Regions from separate parts of the Homo sapiens genome. Here all the other regions are linked to region 3. Evidence: promoter capture Hi-C in 16 types of primary human blood cells and fetal thymus (Javierre and others, 2016). All regions are on one chromosome and are shown on one strand. Each heading gives the region's core, a stretch centred on a gene start or on the middle of the fragment in contact. The rest is flanking DNA. Distances are from core to core; before and after follow the strand shown. Region 1 has its middle 86 kb from the start of LYSMD4. Region 2 has its middle 44 kb from the start of LYSMD4. Region 3 holds the start of TTC23 (tetratricopeptide repeat domain 23).

Evidence for each region. The method cuts DNA at HindIII sites, captures the fragments that hold promoters and counts their contacts. A CHiCAGO score of 5 or more calls a contact.
Region 1: a contact is called between a fragment that was not itself captured here and the fragment with the promoter of TTC23 in region 3, in 5 of 17 cell types (total B cells, activated CD4 T cells, naive B cells and 2 more). The highest score is 11.6, in total B cells.
Region 2: a contact is called between a fragment that was not itself captured here and the fragment with the promoter of TTC23 in region 3, in 1 of 17 cell types (total B cells). The highest score is 5.2, in total B cells.

The regions. Positions count from the first base shown.
Region 1 is chr15:99,817,917-99,821,851 of GRCh38, forward strand. It overlaps the pseudogene LOC400464. Among named protein-coding and RNA genes, the nearest start is that of LYSMD4, 86 kb to the left of the region's middle. The HindIII fragment of the contact is 335 bases long and covers 1,796-2,130 here.
Region 2 is chr15:99,775,592-99,779,303 of GRCh38, forward strand. No RefSeq gene overlaps it. Among named protein-coding and RNA genes, the nearest start is that of LYSMD4, 44 kb to the left of the region's middle. The HindIII fragment of the contact is 766 bases long and covers 1,265-2,030 here.
Region 3 is chr15:99,247,185-99,250,830 of GRCh38, forward strand. It overlaps TTC23 (tetratricopeptide repeat domain 23), which reads right to left and starts at 2,397. Exons shown (of 14, transcript NM_001288615.3): 1 at 1,987-2,397. The HindIII fragment of the contact is 13,098 bases long and covers 1-3,646 here.

The DNA.
Region 1 (3,935 bases), core at 713-3,212, 570 kb after region 3:
CGATAACAACAGCAAAAGGAATAGGACCTGGAATCTTCAGTTGAATCAGTCTATTTATAATCTCGTGTAAGAGGTAGAGAGAAAACATAGGTCATTGCTTTCTCATCATTCATTAATTCACTCACTCATTCAAAACACAAATAGATGCATGCTCTGCTAGACACTGTAGATACAAATGGTTACAACAATCTCTCAAGTTTCTCAAAGCCAGTGGGGGAAATAGGCATATAAACAACAAATATCATGCACTGTCATATTGGACACTTGAAGACTGCCTATTGGACTGTGGGACTACAATATAAGATACTGTCAATTTGTCCTAAGAAGGTCACTCACGGGGGAGTGAAAACTGAATTCCGCCACAAAGGAATAGTCAAATTTTCCAGGCCAGTAGGGAAAATGCTATTCCAGATGGCAGGAACATTGTGAGCAAAGTTAAGGATCAAGGAAAAAATATAAGTATGAAGAGATGAAAGTAGAGGCACGTTGTTCAGTACAAGGGTGGAGTATTTGGTGGAGAGAAATGAGAATTAGGGAGAGACAGACAGGGTCAGATAAAAAATGGTCATGGTCCACATAAAACTAAAGAGTTTAGAATTTATCATGAGACAAATAGGTGTCATTCAAAGATATTATAAGGTACAACATGATGAGATTTGCACTTCAGAACCGCAGCCCTGATAGTGGTTTAGAGGCTGGATTACAGGTGGGGATGGAGGAGCTGTGGTGGAGGCCAGGGTAGGAGAGAAAGGAGTGTGAGGAGTGGTGGGGTGAGTGGGGTGGGGATGGATTTCCTAAAAAGGTGATAGAGGAAGAGAGATTGGGTTGGGACATTCAGAGGTGAGAACAGAAGGAAAAAAAAAAAAAACAGATCTAAAAGGAAAGAGAAGTGATAGGCCTGTGTACCAGTTTGAATAACAATACTACAACTGTTTATCGAGAGCTCATGATGTACCAAACATGATATTTTAATCCTCACTACAATTAATTTTGTAAATTTTTTTATTTTTACTTTTATCAGTTGATATTCAGAGGAGTTAAATCGCTTACTGAAGGCCATGCCAATTTTAAGTGAAGGGATGAGGTTAAAACTAAATGCTACTAGATACAGAGCTGATGTCCTCTCAACTACATTCTTTGGCCCTCTTAACTGGATCAGCAACAGGGGAGAGGGCGGAGACTAGAATAGCTCTTCACAGTTCTCTGGATCTGCTTGGATACTGTCCAGTTTGGAGGAAGAAGATGAATTAAATGGAGATATCTGAGGGATATTCAGGTGCAAAAGATAAATACGCAGTTGGATACATGGGTCTGAAGAAGGTTCCTGGTGACACTGGTTGGTAGATAGACTGAGAGCTGAAATTCACCTGCAGTAATTGTTACTCTGTGTCTTCCTGTTGAATTTATGAGTCAGATCAATATATATTTTCCTCTACCTTTTAAAGTTAGAATTTACAATACCTACCTAATAGTTACTTCCTGCAGAGTAAAAATATTTTGTATTAGTTTTTCATTGGTTGTATTATTTATTAATGATATCCTCAACAAATATGTGTTCATTAACCATTGGGTGCATTGTGCAAATTACACCACACTATTTGATGGAAAGAATGAGGTCTCTTCTTGCTAAATAGTTCTAGTCATCTCCCTTTTATAGTTTCCTTTACTTTGTCTTTAGAGCAATTTATTTTTCTATTCATTATTCATCTTATTACATGTTCTTTTTGGTTCACTTTCTCTAATCCTGTTTTGCAGGAGAAATATTATAAATAAAAACATCTGTATATAACTATAAAGCTTACACTCTCATAGCTCGCACAGAGTTTTTGCAAAAGCAAAAAGATAAAACTTTAGCTCTTTGTAGGTATGATTTTTGAGTTGAGATGGCAGGAAAATTTAGTGAGATTTTGATATAAGAGTAACAAAAGGGAGCCTCTAGGGACAAAGCAGATAATACATTGAGAGTGAACAGAAATTATTTCTCAGCCTGGCTCTGCCATGGCAGTTCTTGTCCCTTCCCTATAATTAATTATTTTCTGGTTTAACTGAGAAAACATGAGACAATCTCAAATTTCCTCAGAGCTAGATTACAATATTCCATTTTATCAGCCCTAGAACAACATGAACAGAAGCTTTAGTGGTAGTGTTATAGTCTATGCTGAGGTTTGTTAGCAGTGCATCATTACCTAAGAGATCGCTGCTTAGTTCAGCCAGTTAACTGGAGCTCACCAAAATGTTCTGCTCTTGAAAGAGAAAGCGGGGGAGAAAGGGTGGGCAGAGAGAGAGAGCAAGACAGAGCTCCTTCACAGAGCAATTCATGTAAATGCATTGTCCAATGGCCCTGAGATCCATTAATTAAATTAATTAGACTTCATAGCATTTGCTGATGAAACATGATGAAAAAAGTTGGAAGAGAATAGGAAACACATACACTGCAGCATCTGGTTTTGCCAGAGTTGGGCCCTTGAGAATTATTAAGTGATAGTTTGACATAATTCAGAATTAATAAAATCTGTCTGCCCCCTGAAAGTGTGCATTTTCATAATTTAAGTAATGCATGCTAATTAGCTTAGATCAAAATGTGAGCTCCATTGTTGCCTACAAGTTAGCATGACTTCATGACTGGTGATATAATAGTATCATCACCCCAGGGAAGGATATTTCTGTGAAATTAAGTAGTATAGTTCTATCTGAAAAATCCTGCTAATAAATACAGGCCTTATTTTGATATTTTGGAATTTTATAGGGAATTAAATACAATACAATAATGCATCCTACTGAGGTCAGACAGCTGAGAAAAACAGGTCAGTCAAATCCTCATTCCTGTGAAATTTACCAGTGGGCTTTTAAAATGGCCAAACGTTAAAGTATCTAGCATGATGCTTGAAATATAATCTGTGGAAATACACTAAACTAAAATGATCTTGTCCAGTCTCATGGTTTCAAATACTAGCCCCATGCTAACGATCAAATTTTGTATGCATTCAAAACTCCTGAACTCAGATTTAGATATCTAACATCCCGACTGGTTTCTTCACCTTACTGTTTCCCATGCCAAACTTCTTTCTTTTCTTAATCCATTTCCCCCACCTTTTCCATTATATTAAACGTAATTAAATAGGGATGTTTGGCTGAGGCTATGAAATTTGACTCACATCACATGCCAAATTCATCACCAAATCCTGTCAACTCTACTTTAAAAATATTTTCAAAGTATGACCACCTCTTACTACTACCACTCTAGTTCAAATCATCCTAGCTCTTTCCTAGGTGACTGCAGTAACATCTCACTACCTAGATCTACCCTTTGTCCTATAGTCAATTCTTATCTCAGCAGACAGCAGACTATTAAAGCTGTGAACCATATCAGCCTCCATTTCAAGTGCCTTCAGTGGCTTCCATTTCACCTCCAGCAAAATGGAAATCTCCACAATGACATCTAAGACTCTCCATGGTTGGTCCCCCTTCTTGCCTTACAACTAAAAACTCTTCTACCATTTCCACTGTATTTACTCTGCTGTAGCAGGGAGACCTATTTGCTGTCCCTTAAGTAAAGCAGTCTTTCTCCTCTGGTCTTTGCATTTGCTGGTCCTGTTACTGGGAGTGTTCTTTTTCCCATCCACTTGATGACTTCCCTCATCTCCTTCAAGTCTTTGTTGGAATGTTCTTACACAGTGAGGACTTCCCTGGCCACCATATTTAAAACAGAATCTTCAGTCCCATGTCCAGCACTCTTTATGCACCTTCCCTGTTTTATAATAGTTTGAGAAAATGAGTAAGTGTTTTGGGGACACAGTACTTACTATCACCTGATATAATTAGGCATAAAACTGTATTTCTGAATTATTTTCTTTCTTATGTATTTGTTTGCCTCCTGTCATAACTAAGCATTTAGTGAAGATTGTCTATTTTATCCACAATGGTATTCCTAATTC
Region 2 (3,712 bases), core at 398-2,897, 530 kb after region 3:
GTAGAGACAGATAATGTGTATGTATCTTCTTTCAGTTTTATTGGGATATAATTTACATTCCATGATGTTCACATGTTTAGTGTACCATTTCATGTTTTTAGTATGTTAATACAGTTGTGCAAATACCACCATAATCTATTTTTAGAATATTTTTATAGTCTTAAAAAATAAACCTTGTACCAATTAGCAGTAACTCCCTATTTCCCACTTCTGGATTTTAAACAGTGCCAGAACATAGAGAAAAAATAAACTTTCTAAAAACTTACAGGAGGTTATGAAGTTGTAAAGAAAACAAAAAATTATCCATTAATTGTAGATTTAACAGATCTCATCTATTCAAATTACTTTGCCTTGTAACTTCATATACACATATACATTAATTTTATTGACTTATCAAATATATATAATCTATCAAATTTTCAAATGTATATGAATAAAATTTTATTTAACATTTTATATAATGTTTTATCTATTTTATCTTTAGTTGTATCATTTTCCTCTTTCCTCATAGTAATAGCATCTCCTTTATTTCTGTCTTGTTTATATTTGAAAAACAATTTATTATTTATTTACTAGTGTTTTTCAAGTAAATAGTTTTGGGGATGAATTTTTGTTTCACTAAGTTTGTTTCTTTGTTTGCTTGTTTGTTTTTGAGACGGAGTCTCGCTCTGTCGCCCAGGCTGGAGTGCGGTGGTGCGATCTCGGCTCACTGCGAGCTCCGCCTCCCGGGTTCACGCCCTTCTCCTGCCTCAGCCTCCCGAGTAGCTGGGACTACAGGTGCCCGCCACCACGCCTGGCTAATTTTTTGTATTTTTTAGTAGAGACAGGGTTTCACCGTGTTAGCCAGGATGGTCTCGATCTCCTGACCTTGTGATCCGCCCGCCTCGGCCTCCCGAGTAGCGGGGATTACAGGCGTCCCCACCACGCCCGGCTAATGTTTTTTTTTTTAAAGACGTGGCCTGGTGCGGGGGCTCACGCCTGTAATCCCAGCACTTTGAGAGGCCGAGGCGGGCAGATCACGAGGTCAGGAGATCCAGACCATCCTGGCTAACACGGTGAAACCCCGTCTCTACTAAAAACACAAAAACAAAAAAATTAGCCGGGCGTGGTGGTGGGCGCCTGTGGTCCCAGCTACTCTGGAGGCTGAGGCAGGAAAACTGCATGAACTCGGGAGGCGGAGCTTGCGGTGAGCCGAGAACGTGCCACTGCCATCCAGCCTCGGCAACAGAGAGACTCCACCTCAAAAAAAAAAAAAGTAGATAAAAGCTTATAGAATAAGAATATAACAACAAAAAAATCGTGTATAACAGTACAATGTGTTTTAAGCTACATTTATTATAGAAGAGTCAAAATGTTTAAAAAAACAAAATTATAAAGTAAAAAGTTACAGTAAGCTAAGGTAAATTTATTATTAAAGAAAAAGAAATATTTTCAATAATTGTAGGGTATTCTAAGTGTACAGTATTTATAAAGTCTGCAGTAGTATACAATAGTGTTCTAGGCCTTCACGTTCACTCACCACTCACTGACTCACCCACAGCAACTTTTTGGCCTGAAAACTCCATTCATGGTAATTTCCCTATAAGGTACCATTTTTTATCTTTTACACTGTATTTTTGCAGTATCTTCTCTATATTTAGAGACACAAATACTTACCATTGTGTTACAGTTGCCTACACTATTCAGTACAGTAACCTGCCATACAGGTTTGTAGCCTGAGGACAAAAGGCTCCACCATGGAGCCTTAGGTGGGGAGCGGCCTGTATATCATCTAGGTTGGTGTAAGTCTGCCCATGATGTTCACACAATTATGAAATCACAGAAACATGCATTTCTCACAATGTGTCTGGTATGGTTGGGCTGTGTCCTCACCCAAATCTCACCTTGAATTGTAATAATCCCCACAAGCCAAAGGCAGGGCCAGGTGGAGATAATGGAATCATGAGGGAGGTTTCCCCCATACTATTCTTGTGATAGTAAATAAGTCTCAGGAGATCTGGTGGTTTTGTAAATGGGAGTTCCCCTGCAAAAGCTTCTCTTGCCTGCTGCCATGTAAGATGTGCCTTTGCCTTCTGCCATGATTGTGAGGCCTCCCCAAACATGTGGAACTATGAGTCCATTAAACCTCTTTCCTTTATAAATTACCCAGTCTCAGATATATCTTTATTAGCAGCGTGAGAACAGACTAATACAGTATCCCCATCATTAAGCTAGGCACAACTGTAGTTACTCATTCTTTCTTCCTACTGAATTAGAATGTTCTTGAGGATGAGAACTGTTTGCTCTTGTTTTATTGATTAATTTTTCACTCACTCAGCAGCAGTTCTAGTTTAAGTGCAATACAATAGTGGGTAAAAGTGTACCTGACTTCCGCTCTAATGGAAGTTATAATTTAGAAGTAGAGACATTTATCAAGTATTCATTCAAATTGGTGCATAAACTGAATTTTAATTATATAAAAAGTGGTACTTCAGGGGGAAAAAAAACCTGGCCAAAACTGGAAAGAAGAATGTTGTTAAGGAACCTTTTACTCTTCCAGCAATGTTGGAAAAGAGGTAATTCACTTAAGGATTTTGAGCTTAATCCTAACTTCAACAAGAAGTGGTTAGGTAATATAAAAAGCAGAGAATGGATAAGTTAATTTTTTAGGAGTTTCTTCTGGCTGCCTAATGGAAAAAAATAAGATAAGGGTGAGTGGGAAGCAAAACAGTTTCTAGGAGGTGAATTAACTGGTCATTTAAGTAATTCAAAAGAGGGATGTTGTTAGATTAAAAGAGAATGGTGGTTGTGGACATGTGGATATAAGACAAATTTGAAATGTATTTTTGAAAGAAAACAATGAGACTTGTTAGTGGAAAGAATATGGGGCAGTGTGTCAGGCACAATCTGCTACACACCCAACATCAGAATATCTTTTTATACTTAGCCTCCCAACATCAGCTAGGTATTAAAAATCCACTTGTCTTCAACCCCCTTCTTCTATTCCAGTAGGATTTGATTTTTTTTCCAGCTAATGAGAGTTCAGTAGATCTTAGAAAGGAAATGATACCCTGTCTCAGCTCCAAGGGGTGAACTGTGATTGTCTAATTGAACAGTGCCATGACAATTGAATTCTTTTTGTTTGTGGTTGGTTCAGAGTGGTCATGCAGCCTAATTCTGGAAAGGGGGATATAAGCAAGTGAAAGCTCAGTAGGGTTTCTCTGAAGGTTTTTGCTTTCCAGATAGAAAGTGACAAACTCAACTGGCACGATTCTTTTCCCCTTTTTGCCCATACATGTTTGTTAGTTTCCCATTGCTGCTATTACAAATTACTACAAGCTTGGTGTCTTAAAATAATACAAAAATTAGTGACCTTACAGTTCTGGAGGTCAGAAGCCTGAAGTAGAACCCAGTGAGTGAAATCATCTGGATGTTCCAGCGGAGAACCTGTTCCTTTGCCTTTTCCAACTTCAAGAGGCCACTCACGTGTCTTGGCTCGTGATACCCTTCCATCTTTATAACGAGCAATCGCTAGGTGAGTCTTTCTCACTCCACATCATTCTGCTTCCATGGTCACACCTCCCTATCTGAATCTCCTGGCTCACTCGACTCTTATGATTCCATTGAACTCAACCAGATAAGACAGGTTAATCCCTTCATGTCGAGCTCCTTAATTTAATCACATCTGCGGAGTACATCTGCAATGTAAGGCAACACAGTCACAGGTCTGGGA
Region 3 (3,646 bases), core at 1,147-3,646:
GTGGACAAATTGGAACCCTCATACACTCTGGTGGAAATGTAAAATGGGAAATTCACCTTGGAAAGCAGTTGTGCAACACCTTGAAAAGTTACACCCAGAGTTACCATATGACAGTAATTCCACTCGTAGATATACACCCAAGAAAACTGAAAACACACGTTCATACAAAAACTTGTACCCATCTTCATAGCAGCATTATTCATAATGCTAAATACTGTACTGTATTTACTGTAATACAATTACAATTAGTACAATTAAACACTATATTTAAATACTAGAAGAAATCCAAATGTCTGTTAATTGGTACTGTTAAATAAAATGTGGATTATTACTTAGCAATAAAAAGGAATGAAGTAATGAGACATACTACAACATGGATGAACCTCAAAAACATTATGCTAAGTAAAAGAAACTAGATGCAAAGGATCGCATAATGTGTAATTCCACTTACATGCCCAGAAAAGGTAAATTTATAGACAGAAAGTTTTTTAGTGATTGGGGCTGGGGATAGGAAACCAGGACTTGCCTGCAAATGGGCACAAAGTATTTTTTTAGGATGATGAAAATTTTCTAAATTTTCTAGGATGATGAAAATTTTCTAAATTTTCTAGGATGATGAAAATTTTCTAAATTTTCTAGGATGATGAAAATTTTCTAAAATTGGAATGTGGTGATGGTTGTGATTTTCTAAAACAATCATTGAGTTATATCCTTAAGACAAATGAACTTTATAATATATAAATTATACTTCATTAAAGCTGTTAAAAATAGCTATGAAACCACAACGCAGTTTTATGTGTAATTCTGGTTTTTATACATATTATGACAAGACTTTTATAAAGACGGGGCAACCATGACTCCCCAAGACAGTGTGGCAGCGGTCCCCAAAAATCTTAAAGAAGTAAACTCAATGCTTTCGAAGACTACAAAGAAGTGCATCAAAATTTATATTATTCAACAATGATAAGGTAAATGTATTCGGGTAAGAAGCATGGTTACTAACCTGTGTGCCAGTATTTACACAGCATGGGGCCCCTTAGCTTCTGGTCTCTGCTCTGGTCTAGCCATCTTAAATTCCACTGTCAGTTTTATTGTCTTCAAATATTACTTTCATAAGGGGTGCCTCCTGTTCCAAACACAGGACCCAAACCCCTGATTTTGGGAATTCCGGCTCTTTATATTTCTCATGCTGCTTTTTAAAATTTGTAACCAAAGTTTCCAAATGAACCTTCTGCCGCAGTCAGAACCAACTCTTCCTCAGGCTGCATGTATTTGCTAACAACTCACTCACTAGTAGGGATGCCACTTCCCTTATTTTTCTCTCTGAAATTCTGCCCATTGCTCAGGCCCAAATTGAGTCTTACCCATACTGTGAAGCCTTCTCTGAATAATTCATCTCACATTGAGCTGAGCTCCTGAAGCACCTGTGCTCTACAACAGTCATCCGGGCATTAAGAACTGTTCAGAAGTTTTAGTTTAAATGTTCTGAGCCTCATTTGTCCCTGCTCTTGAGGGGCTGGATTTTATTACTTTATATTCCCCTATATGGATTAACACAGGCAACTTAAGAAATAGTCATGTTCATCAACGTTTCCTTGATAAATTCTTTTGTATTTGTTTTAATTAAAAATGTCATTTTTGAAATATGATTGCTGGATTTTTTTGAGAATTTACCCTTACATGCTGATTCTGCTTCAGGTATCTGTAGTATGTTTTGTTCAGCCATTAGCAGATCTGTCCCTGGAATCCCTAATCCACAAATATACACAAAATTTGGGTTCAAGCAACTCTATTTTCTCCTATATCTTTTAATAGATATATTATCTATTATGCCAGGTATGACAATATATAAACAAAAATATCCATATAAAAATTACAATATTACTAAATGTCCTTCTAAATCCACACTTAAGCAACAATAACGAAGCACAGTTTCTTAAAGTAGAAAATGATCTATAGTTAATCTTATTATCTTGCCTCCTTTACCTTTCAAAAATCCACTGATAATCTGGGCATGATGCTTTCAAACTTCACCCTAAAGAGAAAAATGCTCTCTGAACACTCTTCTTCCTGCTGTCTTTAAATTGTGCCTGTATTTTCTCTGCTTTTCCTTTGACACTCAATCACTCCTTTAAAACTTGTAAAAAACCGGAAAAGTTTCTGTAACTCTCCAATCTCCAACTATGTCGTAAAATCCCTTGCCAGTTTACCCAGTCTGCTGGAGAGGCTCACCGTTTCTTTTTCGAGCGAATTACACAGTTGTCTTGGCAGCGTGATTTGCCCTCTGGTTCCTGCTTTATCAGTTTGGTGATTCTTTGTACAGATTGATAACCATGAAAAAGTCTAAAGTAGGGCAGTTCCGGAGCAGCCTTTTCCCATAAAGCAAGCGGGTACCTCACAAAACTCCAGGCAAAAGAATGAATGATAGAGCACTCACCAATAGCGAGTGGAGAAGAGTATTTTGTCGAAGTTTGCAAACCAATCTTTGGGAGCCAGAGGTGGGAATTTTAAAATGAGGTCTTTTCCTTGGAATTTTCTTAAAGTGGTATCGTTGCCTGTTGATATTGAAGTTTGTCAAAGAACGTGAAATCACCAGCTTAGAGGATTTTTTTCCCCTTTAAGAGAGACAAAACGTGCGAATTGATTCTCTACAAATTGTGAGAACTTCAAGAGTGGGGTCATAAAGTATTATCAAATATAATCACTTGGTAACTTTTGTGTCAATGTGGGGAGGAGGTGAAGGTTATTTTAACATGATTCATTTTTCATGATCAAATATCAGATATTAATCACTGAAAAACAGTATTCCCCATTAAAAAAAAGAAATGAAAACTAAGAGGCTAACATTGTTTTCAAAAAACTGTTCTACTGTTAATCTTTTTTCTTTTTTGGGGGGTGTAACTCTTCATATATTAGCAGCAAGTCTTATTATTTGGGCTGACCATTAAACACCGTATCTTTGTTTTTACACAAAATGTGGATTTCCTCATTTTAAGACCAGCAAAAAATTTCTGAGTGCCACGAATTCTTAGGTATTCCGAAACTATCTTAGAAATACATGACATATACCAACCATGCTGTATACCTGAATAGCTCTTGAAGACCAGATTTAATAGATAACTGATAATTTTTATTATAACTCATACCTTGTTTTAAAACCAATGTTTTTTATTTAATATAACTCTGCTTTCTAGGTTATTCGTCTCTATGAATAATTAAGTCAGCAACTGTAAAAACTACTTCATTATAAAGTTAAAGTTCCTTGACAAGGAGCCTCGCAAACTCATAGACAGGCTTTCCACAGAACAAAAAATATCAGCGGTTGTAGTAGAGGATTATACTTTAAAATCTTCATTTCAGAAGGAAATTTGTCATATTAATGAGACACTTTAAAAAGTGTCTTTTAAAAATGTTTCCGAACTATGCTTCCAAGTATTTTTAACAGCATAAAGCCCTCTTTCATGCTATTTCGCTGACATAATAATTTTCGTCTTGAAGAAATACATATTGACGGCCTACTCAGTCAGGCTAGGAAGTGTCATTGTATTTAACTCTCTAAATTGTTCCTGACCTTTTTAGCAATCTTTACTCAAAATAAACCTTGGGTGTTTGAAGGGCAGAGACTAGGTTACGTCCTCCTCATCTT